Regions from separate parts of the Homo sapiens genome. Here all the other regions are linked to region 1. Evidence: promoter capture Hi-C in human tissues and cell types (Jung and others, 2019). All regions are on one chromosome and are shown on one strand. Each heading gives the region's core, a stretch centred on a gene start or on the middle of the fragment in contact. The rest is flanking DNA. Distances are from core to core; before and after follow the strand shown.

The links. The method cuts DNA at HindIII sites, captures the fragments that hold promoters and counts their contacts. A contact is called where the count stands out against the background at its distance.
Region 2: a contact is called between a fragment that was not itself captured here and the fragment with the promoter of MSI1 in region 1, in 4 of the 25 tissues and cell types used here (H1 embryonic stem cells, liver, mesenchymal stem cells and 1 more).
Region 3: a contact is called between a fragment that was not itself captured here and the fragment with the promoter of MSI1 in region 1, in 4 of the 25 tissues and cell types used here (H1 embryonic stem cells, dorsolateral prefrontal cortex, heart left ventricle and 1 more).

Annotation. Positions count from the first base shown.
Region 1 is chr12:120,366,601-120,371,148 of GRCh38, forward strand. MSI1 (musashi RNA binding protein 1) reads right to left here and starts at 2,564. Exons shown (of 15, transcript NM_002442.4): 1 at 2,433-2,564; 2 at 2,233-2,273; 3 at 1,592-1,673; 4 at 1,408-1,492. The coding sequence starts at 2,491. The HindIII fragment of the contact is 19,353 bases long and covers 1-4,548 here.
Region 2 is chr12:120,454,575-120,459,079 of GRCh38, forward strand. GATC (glutamyl-tRNA amidotransferase subunit C) reads left to right here. Exons shown (of 4, transcript NM_176818.3): 3 at 2,502-2,605. Among named protein-coding and RNA genes, the nearest start is that of GATC, 10 kb to the left of the region's middle. The HindIII fragment of the contact is 8,224 bases long and covers 1-4,505 here.
Region 3 is chr12:120,473,331-120,478,032 of GRCh38, forward strand. It overlaps a transcript of DYNLL1 not described here. Among named protein-coding and RNA genes, the nearest start is that of SRSF9, 5.9 kb to the left of the region's middle. The HindIII fragment of the contact is 6,330 bases long and covers 1-4,702 here.

The sequences.
Region 1 (4,548 bases), core at 1,314-3,813:
CACTGTGACTCACAGCTGGCAACATAAATAAAACCCAACAAGTAAATAAAAGGTGAAAGTCAGAGCTCAAAATAGACTCCCCACAGTAAACCTCCCTCCCACCCCCTTTCCCAGGCTGGAGGACGCCAAACACAGACAAAGCCCTGGCCCTTTTCAGCCCCATCTCCTAAGGATGCTCATCTCACCCTCCTTCCTCCCTCATTCTCTTCCCCTTTATCAATCTTCCACTCCTCCATCCCCCAGCCCCTAAATCTCAGCTTCCTCAGCACTGCAGAAGCCATCAGTGCATTCTGAGGACAGGGGATGGTAGCAGAACAGGCAGCTTGATGGCAGATAATCACCAAAAACAATAGGCCACTGTCTCTCCATTTCCAGGCTTGGGTCACTCAGGCTGCGCCAAGAAGATCCTTTCAGAGCCGGCAAAGTTGAGGCCTGGCCTCATTTGCTCATTACTGCGAGCGGGAGCGGGAGCCACTGGGCAGAGATAACAGGAGCTGGGGACAGGCGGTAATTTGACAAATTCTTGGGCACAAGCAGCTATTGTTGCAGGTAAACGGGAGCCAGGGACTGACCCAAGCAGAGAGGCCCAAGGCTGGGGGACAGCAGGGAAGCATGGAGAGAAGAGATCCACACTATCCCTGCCCCCAGCAGACAGACACCCCCATCACATGGGAGTAACCCCCTCCTCTGACTTTTCTACTTTTCCATCTGCCCTGGAGCCAGCGCCCCCTGCAGGGTCTAAGACACGAAGGAGCTGTGGGACAACAGCAAAATGTTCCATGAGTTTGAATGCCAACCAAGCAGCTTCTCCTAAGATCTAGTCTTCCGAAGGGTCGTTTCCAGGCAAGCTAGAGCCTTTCTCATAAATCCCCTCCGTGGGCAAAGCAGGTCCCTGTCTTCCACACAAAGCAAGGAGCTCATTGACCAAAAGTCGGGGGAGGAGGGAAGGAGAGAGGGAGGGGGCTTCAAGGGATGCTTTGCCATTGGTCTGGATGAAGAGGGGGTGTCGCAGAGCCAAATACTAGTTAGAGTTCACAGAAGCCACCGGGTGGGTCAGTGCTACCCTGACTCACCCAATTTGGGCTGGGGGAGGGACCTAGCCCCACCCCAAGCTCTGCTCTGAGGCATCATGATTAGTACTTCTAGGGAGAGGGTGGCGGCTGCCTCTCCCCTCACCAGGACTAGGGGAGGGGGGATGTAGCATCTCATGGCAGGCCAGGGATTTTTCTCCTCCCTCTCCCCCCCAACTCTAGTGACAAAGTTTCAGAGCATGGCAGCCCTCTTACTCAGAAAAACTCCCTCCTTCCTCATGGACCCCGTCCAGCTGTCCCCTGGGGAGAGTCCTGACCCTCTCCTCCGGCAGCCTCCCTCTCCCAAAGGACCCCCGAAGCCCCGAGGGCCACTCACTGTTTTGGAGTCGAGCTCGTGCCGCGATTGCGCCAGCACTTTATCCACCCCCGCCTGGTCCATGAAAGTGACGAAGCCGAAACCCCTGCGCGCCGTAGTGAGGGAGAGGCAGATGGTTACAAGGCAGTGAGTGGCGGGTGGAGGGGGGCGAGCCGGGAGCAGGAGGAGGGGGTGAGGGGCTCACCTGGATCTCTTGGTCAGGGGGTCCCGCATCACCAGACACTCCTTCACCTCCCCGAACTGGCCGAAGTATTCGCGCAGCCCTTCTGTAACCACACACCCGCCTTCGGACCAGCCCGGGCCCCGCGCCCTTCCCCCCCCCCCGTCCTTTGCCCCCGGTGACCCCGGAGCGGCCCGGCCGCCCCCGCGCCAAGCTGCCCGCGCGTTCTCCACTGCCGCCGCCCCCCACCGCCCTCGCCCCGTTCCCGCTGAGCCTCCTGGCGCCCACCGGGGCCCCGGGAAGCCGAGGGCCGAGCTGGGCTGGAAGGGGGACGGCTCCGGCCGGGTTCCCGCCGCTCCGGGAGCAGCCTCACAAAAGTTTGAGCCGCAGGTGCGAGCGGAGTTGGCGCTGCCGCCGGCGGGTCCCGGGGGCCCAGCCCACCCCCCGATACCCCCTGAACCCCTCATCTGCTCCCCTCCACCCGCTGGGCCGGGTGCGCTCGCGGATCGCCCTGCGCTCTCGGGGTCTCCGGGCGGGGCGCGAAAGAGGGCGCGAGGGCGCCCGGGGTCAGCAGGGCGCAGGGCCGGGCTGGGGTGTCCGGGTCCGGGGCGCCGGGGGGTCCGGGGTGCCCTGCCGGACCGGCGGGCGCTCCCGGGCTCGCTCACCCTGCGTAGTCTGCCAACTGAGTCCCCCGATGAACATCTTGCTGCGGGAGGAGGAGAGACACAAAGGGCCCGCGTGAGCGCCGGGCGCCAGGGCGCAGGGGGCGCGGGCCCGGGCTCCGGGGAGGCCCGGCCGGACCCGGATCGGCCATGTTGGCGGGGCCGGGGCGGGCGCGGGCCAAGCAGGCCGGGCCGGGCCGTACCAGGGGTCGTGCGGCGAGTCCGGGGAGGCGAGGCCGGGCTGGGGCGCGTCAGTCTCCATCGGGAGCCGCGGGCGGCGCGGGCAGCGGAGCGGCGGCGGCGGCGGCGGCGGCGGCGCTCGGCGCGGGGCAGATGAGGAGCGCGGCGAAGGGGGCCGGACGGACAGGCCATGCTGCCCCCTCCCCCGACCCCGCTCGGGCGGGCGGGCGGGGACGGCCGAGGGGAGGGCCCGCCGGGGGCCGACCTGCCGGCTCCTCCCCCCGCCGCCCTGCGCGCATAAAGCCCCGCGCTCGCCCGCGAGCCCGGGCGCCCGCGGAGGCGGCGGCGCCGGGACCCCCTTCCCGCGGGGCTCCTGGGTCTCCGGGGCCGAGCGAGACCCCCGAATCCCGGTGCGGGCCGGGACCAGGGCGCGGCCGCACCCCCCACCCACCCCGGCGCGGGGGCCCGGCCGCGGGAACGCCCTCCCGGAATGAAGCGCTTCCCGGTGCCTTCAAGGTAGCTCGGTTCCGGATCGGGAACCCCCCCGGTCTTCCCTCTCAGGTCCCTGCTGTCCAGAATTGAAGAGAACCCCAATCTCCTCGGGTCGGGCGGGAGATAGCCCTAGTGCTCCCCAGTCCCCACATGCTCCATTTCCCCAGTCGGAGCGAGAAGCCGCCCTCAGAGCCCCCAGTTTCCTCCCAACCTAATTTACAGCCCCCCACCCCCACCCCAGGGCTCTAATTTAGAGCCCTCGCTCCGTTCCCAGGATCCCATATCCAGTTTGGGGGACCCACTCAGTGCCTCGCGTCCCGAGTGGGGAACCTCCATCAGCACCCCAGTAGAAACCGTATCCTCTTCCCCAATCCGTCCTCAGCCCTTGGTGTCCAAAGTGAGAGTCCCCCTTAGTTTCCCCAAATCCCTGCCGTCCACATTAGTGGACCCTATGGTCTGTTGAGAAAATCCCGCGCCCCAAGCCCGGGTTCTCAGTTTGCCGCCACCCCCACCTCCCGGTGTGAGGAGTCTCCCCTGGTTCTCTCCCTCCCTGGCCGGTTTTTGTGAGATCCATTCAGACTCCTGTCCTGATTCGGGAAACCCGGTTCCAGACACTCACCACCCCCACCACACCGAGGCTGGAGGAAAAGGCAGTGCCTCTTAGAGCCTCCTGTTTCCAGTTTAGGAGCCCAACGCCTCAGCTGTGCACCGTCCCCTCCGAATGACCCCCTTCTTTTGCAGAGGTCTAAGCTCCACCCCATCCCATTGGAAGAGCCTAAACTACCTACCCACTGCATTTGGAATGACTTCCCTCAGTCCCTCTTATTTTGAGGCTACTCCCCGTGAAGGCAAACACCTTCCTTTCTACCCCCATCTTCTGGGTCTCTGGGATCCCCCAGTACTTGCACCCAAGGCTCCTTGGAGTCACCTTACGTACCCCTAAAATTCCCTCCCTCCAGCCTGGGAACAACCCTGAGAAAGTATTCTGGTTCACCAGGGGAGCTGCGGGGCCACTCTCCTTATCCCCACCTCTCCTTATCCCCGCCTCTCCATATCCCCACCTCTCCATATTCCCACCTCTCCATATCCAAGCCTTAGGACCCTTCACTTCCCCAGCTGAAACCAGCCAAAAAAGGATCAAACCAGGAAGCTTAGGTGGCCAACACCCCTTCTCCCCATCCCTGCTGGGGGTCTCAGTGCCACACAAGCCCCTCCCTCCCAACTCACCTTCTACTCCTTCCCCCATCCCTACCTTAATCCATCCGGTGTAATCCAGTGACAACCCATGTTGACAAGCCCTTTGCTGTTCACCTTCACATTCCATCCTGAATTCAACACCTTTTATTCCTGGGCATCATAACTCTGACCTCTGGAAGGGTGCCCATCCCCCTCTTGATAGCCCTCCTTCCCTCTCCCCACCCCAACCATCAGGCAGAGAAGAAAGTGAGAGACTTACAGTAATGGTTTCCTTGGGGACCTTCTGGGAATGCTCAGCAGGTATATCCTGCCACCCTGTGAGCATAACACTAGAAACAAACTTGCTTTTTCCTGTTTGTGTCCCCTACTCTGCCCCACAGTTTCTCAGCATCCCCTGGACTGGGGACTGGAGGGCCACCCACACAAGGCATTTCTTACCATTCCGACACA
Region 2 (4,505 bases), core at 70-2,569, 87 kb after region 1:
ATTTTTTTTTTTTTGTATTTTTAGTAGAGACGGGGTTTCACCCTGTCAGCCAGGATGGTCTTGATCTCCTGACCTCGTGATCTGCCCGCCTCAGTCTCCCAAAGTGCTGGGATCACAGGCATGAGGCACCGCGCCCGGCCTCTTAGCCATTTTTTAATACTGTCCAACAGAAACTATAAACTCCAGAAAGTCCAAGGGTTACCTTTGAATAGTATAATTATGATTTTTATTTTACTTTTGTTCTCCCAAGTTTTCTTAAATGAATACAGTCCTTGTGTTATTCAAAAAAAAAAAAAAATCTAGTACAACTCTCTTTTGTGTGTGTGTGTGTGAGACACTGTCTCACTCTGTCACCCAGGTTGGAGTGCAGTGGTGTGATCTCCGCTCACTACAAACTCTGCTTCCTACATTCAAGTGATTCTTGTGCCTCAGCCTCCCAGGTAGCTGGGATTACAGGTATGTACCACCATGCCCGGCTAACTTTTATATTTTTAGTAGAGACAGGGTTTCACCATATTGGATGGTCTCGAACTCCTGACCTCAGGTGATCCACCTGCTTTGGCCTCCCAAAGTGCTGGGATTACAGGCTTGAGCCACTGTGCCTGGCCTTTTTTTTTTTCTTCTTGCTCTGTCGCCCAGGCTTGAGTGCAGTGGTGCCATCTCAGCTCACTGCAACCTCCGCCTCCTGGGTTCAGGCGATTCTCCCGCCTCAGCCTCCCGAGTAGTTGGGATCACACGTGCGTGCCACCACGCTTGGCTAGTTTTTGTATTTTTAGTAGAGATGTGGTTTCCCCACGTTGCCCAGGCTGGTCTTGAACTCCTGAATTCAGGTGATCCACCCGCCTTAGCCTTCCAAAGTGCTGGGATTACATGCAAGAGCCACCACACCTGGCCTTTCTCCCCCACACCCCGCCGCCCCCCTCCAAGAAATTTAATGTCTGAAAAGATCATACTTGTTCAAGGCCACACAGTTAAGAATGTGCCAGGTCCTGTAACAGACTTCAACTTTCTAATATTCATACCATGAGTAAATATTTGTTGTGTCTAGCTTTGGGCTGGGTGCCACAAAAAAAGAACTAGTCCTTTCCTAAAATAATCTTATTGTGACAACTTAGTTCTCTTTTTTTTTGAGGCAGAGTATCGCTCTGTCGCCCAGGCTGGAGTGCAGTGGCGCGATCTCGGCTCACTGCAAGCTCCGCCTCCCGGGTTCACGCCATTCTCCTGCCTCAGCCTCCCAAGTAGCTGGGTCTACAGGCGCCCACCACCACGCCCGGCTAATTTTTTTGTATTTTTAGTAGAGATGGGGTTTCACCGTGTTAGCCAGGATGGTCTCGATCTCCTGACCTCGTGATCCGCCCACCTCGGCCTCCCAAAGTGCTGGGATTACAGGCGTGAGCCACCGCGCCCGGCTGACAACTTAGTTCTTATGTGCAGCCTTAGCCCAGATGTACCTGTCACATCTTTGTCCCTCTCTGACATGACTCAAACGCCATTAGGGTCTGCCCTCAGTCTGTGCCCACTCAAAGCAGGAGGAGCGTGGCTACTACCGAATACCATATCAGTGATTTAACAGACTGCTTATTTTTTTAATCTAAGTATCTGGAAGCAGGCTTACACACTTTTACACCTTGAAACAATAGTGAAGCCTCATGCAAATGTTCAAGCTCTTGTGTGTTTTTTACCGGTTTGCCATCTGAAGGCTTTAGTAAAGTCACTAGGTCCCACAGAACACTGGGAGATTCTTGAGCTGTTGGTGGCACATCTTGCTCAAGGGCAGGCACATCCACCAAAGTGGCTGTGGTGGAAAAAGCATTCATTTTAGGTGTATCAGATTGGGCTGAGATCCCAGTTGTTACTTAGCAGCCAACATCCTTAAGTTACTCTTGTGGCAAGTTTGCTTCCCCATCTCTGCTTAGCTTTCCAGCTTCATCTTCCACCCCGGCAGACCACACCCCAGCCTGCTAAACTCCCTGTCCTTCTCTGAATCTCTGAGCTCTCGGCTCTATTGCTTTGGGATTCATGCTGCTATACGTGCCAGGAAGTCCATTTCTCATACCTTCATCCCCCAATCCAGCTATTTCTTGCCCATCCTTGAACAGTGACATCAGCTATTCTGAGGATGTGCTACTCACGCAGGCTGGACTAGGTACCCTTTCTATCCTTTGGCAGGCTGTACTAACCTCTGTTAGATTTAAAATATTGTTTTTGTAATTGCTTTTACCTGTCCCCACCAAAAGACAGTTGCCCATATAATCATCAAAAACTATTTGTTAAATCAATCCAGAGAAGTAATTAGCACTTACTTCTCAGGGTTGTTCGGTCAATCTATAAACTGTAGGCTGTTATTTGGTCTACTGTTGATCCCAGCTTCTCTATCTTTGAACAGTGCCCATTAACTCAAGAATATACTGCTTCCTTGTTCTCTCCTTCTTGCCCCTCTCCATCATCCCCTAAAAGCCCCCTTCTCTGAGAGGGTAACCTTGAGCTTCTGGGTTTTGTAGATGTCTATACCTGAGATCCGACAATGTGGTAGAAGGCAACTGTGCTGATGAATTACTACAAAACTCCCATCGCGTCGTGGAGGAGTACTTTGTGGCCCCCCCAGGTACGTGCTGCCCAGAATGGTTTAACAGATAGTCTCACAGTAACCTTAGGAATGAAGCAGGAAGCATGAGGACCAAAGATGCTATGTGAAGGCACTTTGAAAAGGATGAAGTGCATACAGATGGTGGCATTAAGGTGGCAGTAGGGTCCAGGGTCATACTCACCTCTAGGGGGCAGTTAGTAACAGGAACAAGCAAAACAGGATTGGGGGCATGCGGGAGGTTTAAAGTAGGTGGAAATCTGGAGCTCAAGATCTCCCTAAAGGGGCAGCTGGCATTCAGTGTTTCTCAAAGCCACAGTTAAGACCCTGCCAGATCCTGTAATCGACTCCAACTTTCTAGTATTCATACCATGAATAAATATTTGTTAGGTCTAGCTTTGGGCTGGGTACCACAAAAAAACCAGTCCTTTCCTAAAAGAATCCTTTTTTTTTTTTTTTTTTTTTGAGACGGAGTTTCGCTCTTGTTGCCCAGGCTGGAGTGCAATGGTGCAATCTCGGCTCACCGCAACCTCCACCTCCCGGGTTCAAGCGATTCTCCTGCTCAGGCTCCCCAGTAGCTGGGATTACAGGCATGCACCAGCACGCCTGGCTAATTTTTTGTATTTTTAGTAGAGACAGGGTTTCACTGTGTTAGCCAGGATGGTCTCGATCTCCCGACCTCAGGTGATCCACCCACCTCGGCCTCCCAAAACGAATCTTATTGTGACAACTTAGTTATCATGTGTGGCCTTAGCCCAGATGTTTCTGTCACATCTTTGCCTATGACATGATTCAAACGCCATTAGGGTCTGCCCTCAGTCTGTGCCCATTCAAAGCAGGAGGAGCATGGCTGCTACCCTATCAGTGTTGCCAGGCAGGAATGTAAACCCATTTCTCCAGAGAACCTGGATACCTGACATTTTGTGTGATATTTCTTAAATTTTTTTTTTTTTTTTTGAGATGGAGTCTCGCTCGGTCACCCAGGCTGGAGTGCAATCTTGACTCACTGCAACCTCTGCCTCCCGGGTTCAAGCAATTCTCTGCCTCAGCCTGCCGAGTAGCTGGGATTACAGGTGCCTGCCACCATGCCTGGCTAATATTTTTGTATTTTTAGTAGAGGCAGGATTTCACCATCTTGGCCAGGCTAGTCTTGAACTGGTGATCTACCCGCCTCAGCCTCCCAAAGTGCTGGGATTACAGGGGTGAGCCACTGCACCCCGCCGATATTTCTTAAATTTTAAGTGCTAGCAACCAATTCAAAATTTAAAAAACAAAATACCATCCAAGCCAAATAAAACACATCTGCAAGCCAGGTGCAGTCTGTGAGCCATCAGTTTACAACAGCTGGTATAGAGATTTGCATCATCTACCTACTGTAAATATTTTAAATAGAAGCTTTAAAATTACTCTGGGCTGACAGTAAAATCCAGAACCTTGGATAGGTTGACTGTTTTTATCTCCTCTGCAGGTAGGTGAATACTTGGAGCTGTTGTACTACCCCTCTGGGCATCTGGGAGTGGGACTAGCCAAAAGCAATCAGGTAGCCTGCTAAGTGCCAACTTCCAGTTCAGGATATCCTGAGGGAGAATCATTCTGAGCAGACTCCACAGAAGACATTGGCCCTGGTCAGCTTAAGGTGCCAGTTAAAGGCAGGCTCTGGTTGATGCAAGGATGGGAAAGAAAGCTAGAAATTTTGTGAGCTAAACTTTTTGTTTGTTTTGAGACGGAGTCTTGCTCTGTTGCCCAAGCTGGAGTGCAGTGGCGCGATCTCGGCTCACTGCAAGCTCCACCTTCCACGTTCATGCCATTCTCCTGCCTTAGCCTCCCAAGTAGCTAGGACTACAGGCGCCCACCACAACGCCTGGCTAATTTTTTGTATTTTTAGTAGAGACGGGGTTTCACCGTGTTAGCCAGGATGGTC
Region 3 (4,702 bases), core at 301-2,800, 110 kb after region 1:
GGAGGATGGCTTGAGTCCAGGAGTTTGAGACCAGGCTAGGCAATGTAGTGAGACCCCTATCTCTACAAAAAACTTAAAAATTGCCAGGCCCAGTGGCTCATGCCTGTAATCCCAGCACTTTGGGGAGGTCAAGGTGGGTGGATCACTTGAAGTCAGGAGTTCGAGACCAGCCTGGTCAACATGGCAAAACCTCATCTTTACTAAAAACACAAAAATTAGTCGGAGGTGGTGGCGCACACCTGTAATCCCAGCTACTTTGGAGGCTGAGGCAGGAGAATTGCTTGAACCCGGGAGGCAGAGGTTGCAGTGAGCCGAGATTGCGCCACTGAACTCCAGCCTGGTCAACACCGAGACTCTGTCTCAAAAAAAAAAAAAAAAAAAAATTAAAAAATTATCTAGGCATGGTAACGTGCACCTGTGGTCTCAGCTACTTGATCTCGAACTCTTGAGCTCAAGTGATCCGCCCATCTCGGCCTCCCAAAGTGCTGGGATTACAGGCATTAGCCACGGCACCTGACAGTCCCAGCTACTTAAGAGGCTGAGGTGGGAGGACTGCTTGAGCCTGGGAGGTTGAAGCTGTAGTTAGCCATGATTGCACCACTGCACTCCAGCCTGGGCAACAGAGTGAGACTCTGTCTCAAAACATAAAAAAGGACACCATGAGAAATCACCCAAATAGGAGAGAGAGTAGCAGACCAGGGAAAATCCCTACTGGTGTGACTGGGGCAAGGAGTTCAAGCAGGGAAGAAGAGAGAAGGAGCTGAGGCACCACCAGCCTGGGCAACATGTTAAAACCCCGTCTCTACAAAAAATACAAAAATTAGCTGGGCATGGTGGCACACACCCATAGTCCCAGCTACTTGGGAGGCTGAGGGGGGAGAATCACTTAAGCCCAGGAGGCAGAGGTTGCAGTGAGCCAATATTGCACCGCTGCACTCCAGCCTGGGCGACAGAGTGAGATCCTGTTACAGAAATGGGCTTGTCCTTCTTTTCACCAAACTGAAAAGAAGCCTTTGATGTTGGCAGACTATTAAGAATTAATGCAGTTCCCACAGCAAGCCATTTATTCTCCACCAGAGTGTAGGGCAGTGCCCAACTGAAAAAAACAACATAAAAAAAAAAAAAAATCCCAAAACCAACAACAGCTCGGGTGATGAGTGCATGAAAATCTCAGAAATCACCACTAAATAACTTAAAGAACTTATCCATATAACCAAACACCACCTGTTCCCCAAAAACCTATTGAAATAAAAATTTAAAACAAACAAAAAACCAACAACGCCAGGCATAAAACATGCTGCAAACCTGCCCATCTGGTTTTCTCCTTTTCTCTGTGACATCAGTCCCCTCTGGCATCCCAGCAAAATATTTTCCTCTCTGTCAGGCTCAGTCATGAGCTCCTCCCAGACCTTGGCCCTAGGTATCAGTGGGCAGAGAGGAAGTGATGGGGGAGTAGACCATCTGAGAAGATGAGGAACTGGTCCCGCCTGGCAGGAGAGCTATGGAATGAGTCACTGGGAAACGTGTTCCTGGTCACAGCACCCTGGGAGCTTTCTCTGTCATTCTCTACCACTGTACTTGTGTGATGGAGTAAAATAAAACATATTCTGGAAAGCTACATAATAAAGAACTGAGCCATGCAGGGGAGGAAGAAGAGAAACAGCAGCAGAACTAGGAGGTTTGGAAGAGAGTTTGGAATTGGGGGTGAGCTTTAGGAAAGCAAGTGTCAAGTGTGGGAGGATGAGAAGAGAAAAATGGGAAAGATAATTCAAGATTTGCAGTATATTGTGAATATAATTCCCCTCTGGTGTTTTTTTCAGAGACTGCAAAAAATCTTTAACATTATTTTTCAATAACTTTTAGATAATGAACTGGTGTTTTCTTTGAATATGCCCAAACAGGTGGGAACACAAGGGCTTGATTTTATATGAAGTTACTTCAAGTGAACATACTGTATTTGTAGCAGCTCGGTTGCTTTATTTTTACTAACTTGTTAAATTCTGTGATGGAGTCTTCAAACAGCTTTTTATATCAGGGCTTCCTTTTCTTGGATTAATGGGCTTCTGGGATCAGTGAACTCCTGCCTCCCTGCCCCCTCAACCTCCACCTCCTGACCCTGATCCTGCAAAGTTGTAACAGTTGTATGCAAAATATTGTATGTGGGCAGAAAAGTGTTTTTATTCTGGGGAGAATCTCCATGTAGCACTGTCCCACAGAACTTTCTAGGATGATGAAAACATTCTATATTTGAGTTCTATGTGGTAGCCATTGGTTACATGTAGCTATTGAGCACTTAAAATGTGGCTACTGCAACTGAGAAACCAACTTCTTAAATTATATTTAACAATAATTAACTTTAATTGTAATAGCCAAATGTGGCTAGTGGCTACCATACAGGACAGCGTAGGAATTTATCATTCTCAAAGGTCTATAAGCTGTACTCCCCCATTCCCCCAAAAAAGGCCAAGAAACACTGAGACCAATCACTTCCCTTTACAGCCCTATGGTACTGGCACATAGTAAGTGCTTAGTAAACACCTGTTGATTTTATTAACTAGTATATAAAGAACAGTTATTCTAGCTCCAGAAAAGTGGAACTGAGGTACAAAATGGCAAATGAGCTCATCAGGTTCACCAAATTTCATTTCCTAAGCTCTAAATTCCTTACCCTCAACCCAGAACTTTTTCCAAAACATTTTCCACTGTAACAAACCTTGAAAACTTTCTTCACAGCAGAGTAAATCAGAAACACAAGCAAAGGGTAGGGGGGTGTGAAAAGATTAATAACAGTACTAAGAATGTTTTTCAATGCAACAAAAAAGGATGCATTTATTTAGTAGAATCCTAATTTTTTTAGACCCAAGTCAGTTTTATACTAAGCAGATTTTTAATGAACTGCGTCAATATAATTCAGTAATGGCACCTCCAAGGCAAATACATTCCTTAAAGGTAAAAAACAAGTATGGGAATTATCTGGAGTTTTTTTTTTTTAAGTTAAAAAAAAATAATAATAACTGAAAGCCAGGAAGCTTCTAGGCTACACATCCCCCATGCTAACACATGCCCAGTGGCTGAACTTCCTTCTGTCTGCCTGAGGCTGGCTCTCCCCCTCAGCCAGCACATGTGCAGGGCTTCTGTGAATGTCACATTGACAGACATTCCTTGCTAGGCAGCTGGGGACCAGTTTCTTTTGTAATTCCATCCTTCTCATGGGCTGCCAGTCTGTCTTGTTGTGACACACTCCTTGAAGGTGCTAGAAGGACAGCGGATGTTTGGGGGGTTTTTTTGTTTGTTTTTTGAGACAGAGTTTCGCTCTTGTCACCCAGGCTGGAGTGCAGTGGTGCGATCTCGGCTCACTGCAACCTCCGCCTCCCAGGTTCAAGCGATTTTCCTGCCTCAGCCTCCTGAGTAGCTGGGATTACAGGCATGCACCACCACACCTGGCTAATTCTGTATTTTTTAGTAGAGATGGGATTTCTCCATGTTGGTCAGGCTGGTCTCGAACTCCCAACCTCAGGTGGTCCGCCCGCCTTGGCCTCCCAAAGTGCTGGGATTACAGGCATGAGCCACCGCGCCCGGACTTTGTTTTTTGTTTTGTTTTTTTTGTTTTTTTTTTTGAGACGGAGTCTCGCTCTGTTGCCCAGGCTGGAGTGCAGTGGCACGATCTTGGCTCACTGCAACCTCTGCCTCCTAGGTTCAAGCGATTCTCCTGCCTCAACTTCCCAAGTAACTGGGATTACAGGCACCTGCCACCACACTTGGATAATTTTGTATTTTTAGTAGAGATTGGGTTTCACCATGTTGGCCAGGCTGGTCTCGAACTCCTGACCTCAAGTGATCCACCTGTCTTGGCTTCCCAAAATCCTGGGATTACAGGTGTGAGTTACCACGCCCAGCCAAGAGCAGGTTTTTTTTATCTAGTGCTATGCTTGGACCCCAGCTTTAAGAGCCCAGGGTTATGTACATGGCATCTGGGACTTTGGTGGTGGCTTCACTCCTTGTCTGCTCAACATTTGTTCATGTATTCAACCCACATTTATCGAGCCATAGAACATTGAGCCTGGCTCTGTGCTGGGCACTGGTGCTCGGGATACAACAGTAAGACTCAACCCTGCCCTCACACCATTCACAGACAACTAAAAAGGCAATTACAGTCAGGCGTGGTGGCTCATGCCTGTAATCCCAGCACTCTGGGAACTCGCTTGAGCCCAGGAGTTCCAGACCAGCCTAGGAAACCTAGTAGATCCCGTCTCTACAAAAAAAATAAATAAATAAAAATAAATAAATAAATAAAAAAAGCTGGGTGTGATGGTGTGCACCTGTAGTCCCAGCTACTCTGGAGGTAGAAGCGGGAGGATGGCTTGAGGCCAGGAGTTGGAGGCTGCTTTGAACTAGGGTCTCGCCACTGTACTCCAGCCTGGGTGACAGAGCAAGACCCCGTCTCTGAAAAATAAAGTAAAAATATATATATATTTTTTTTTCTGAGACAGAGTTTCGCTCTTGTTGCCCAGGCTGGAGTGCAATGGTGCGATGTCAGCTCACTGCAGCCTCCGCCTCCTGGGTTCAAGTGATTCTCCTGCCTCAGTAGCTGAGATTACAGGCATACGCCACCATGCCTGGCTAATTTTTTTTTGTATTTTTAGTAGGGACAGGGTTAAGCCATGTTGGCCAGGCTGGTTTCAAACTCTTAGCCTCAGGTGAT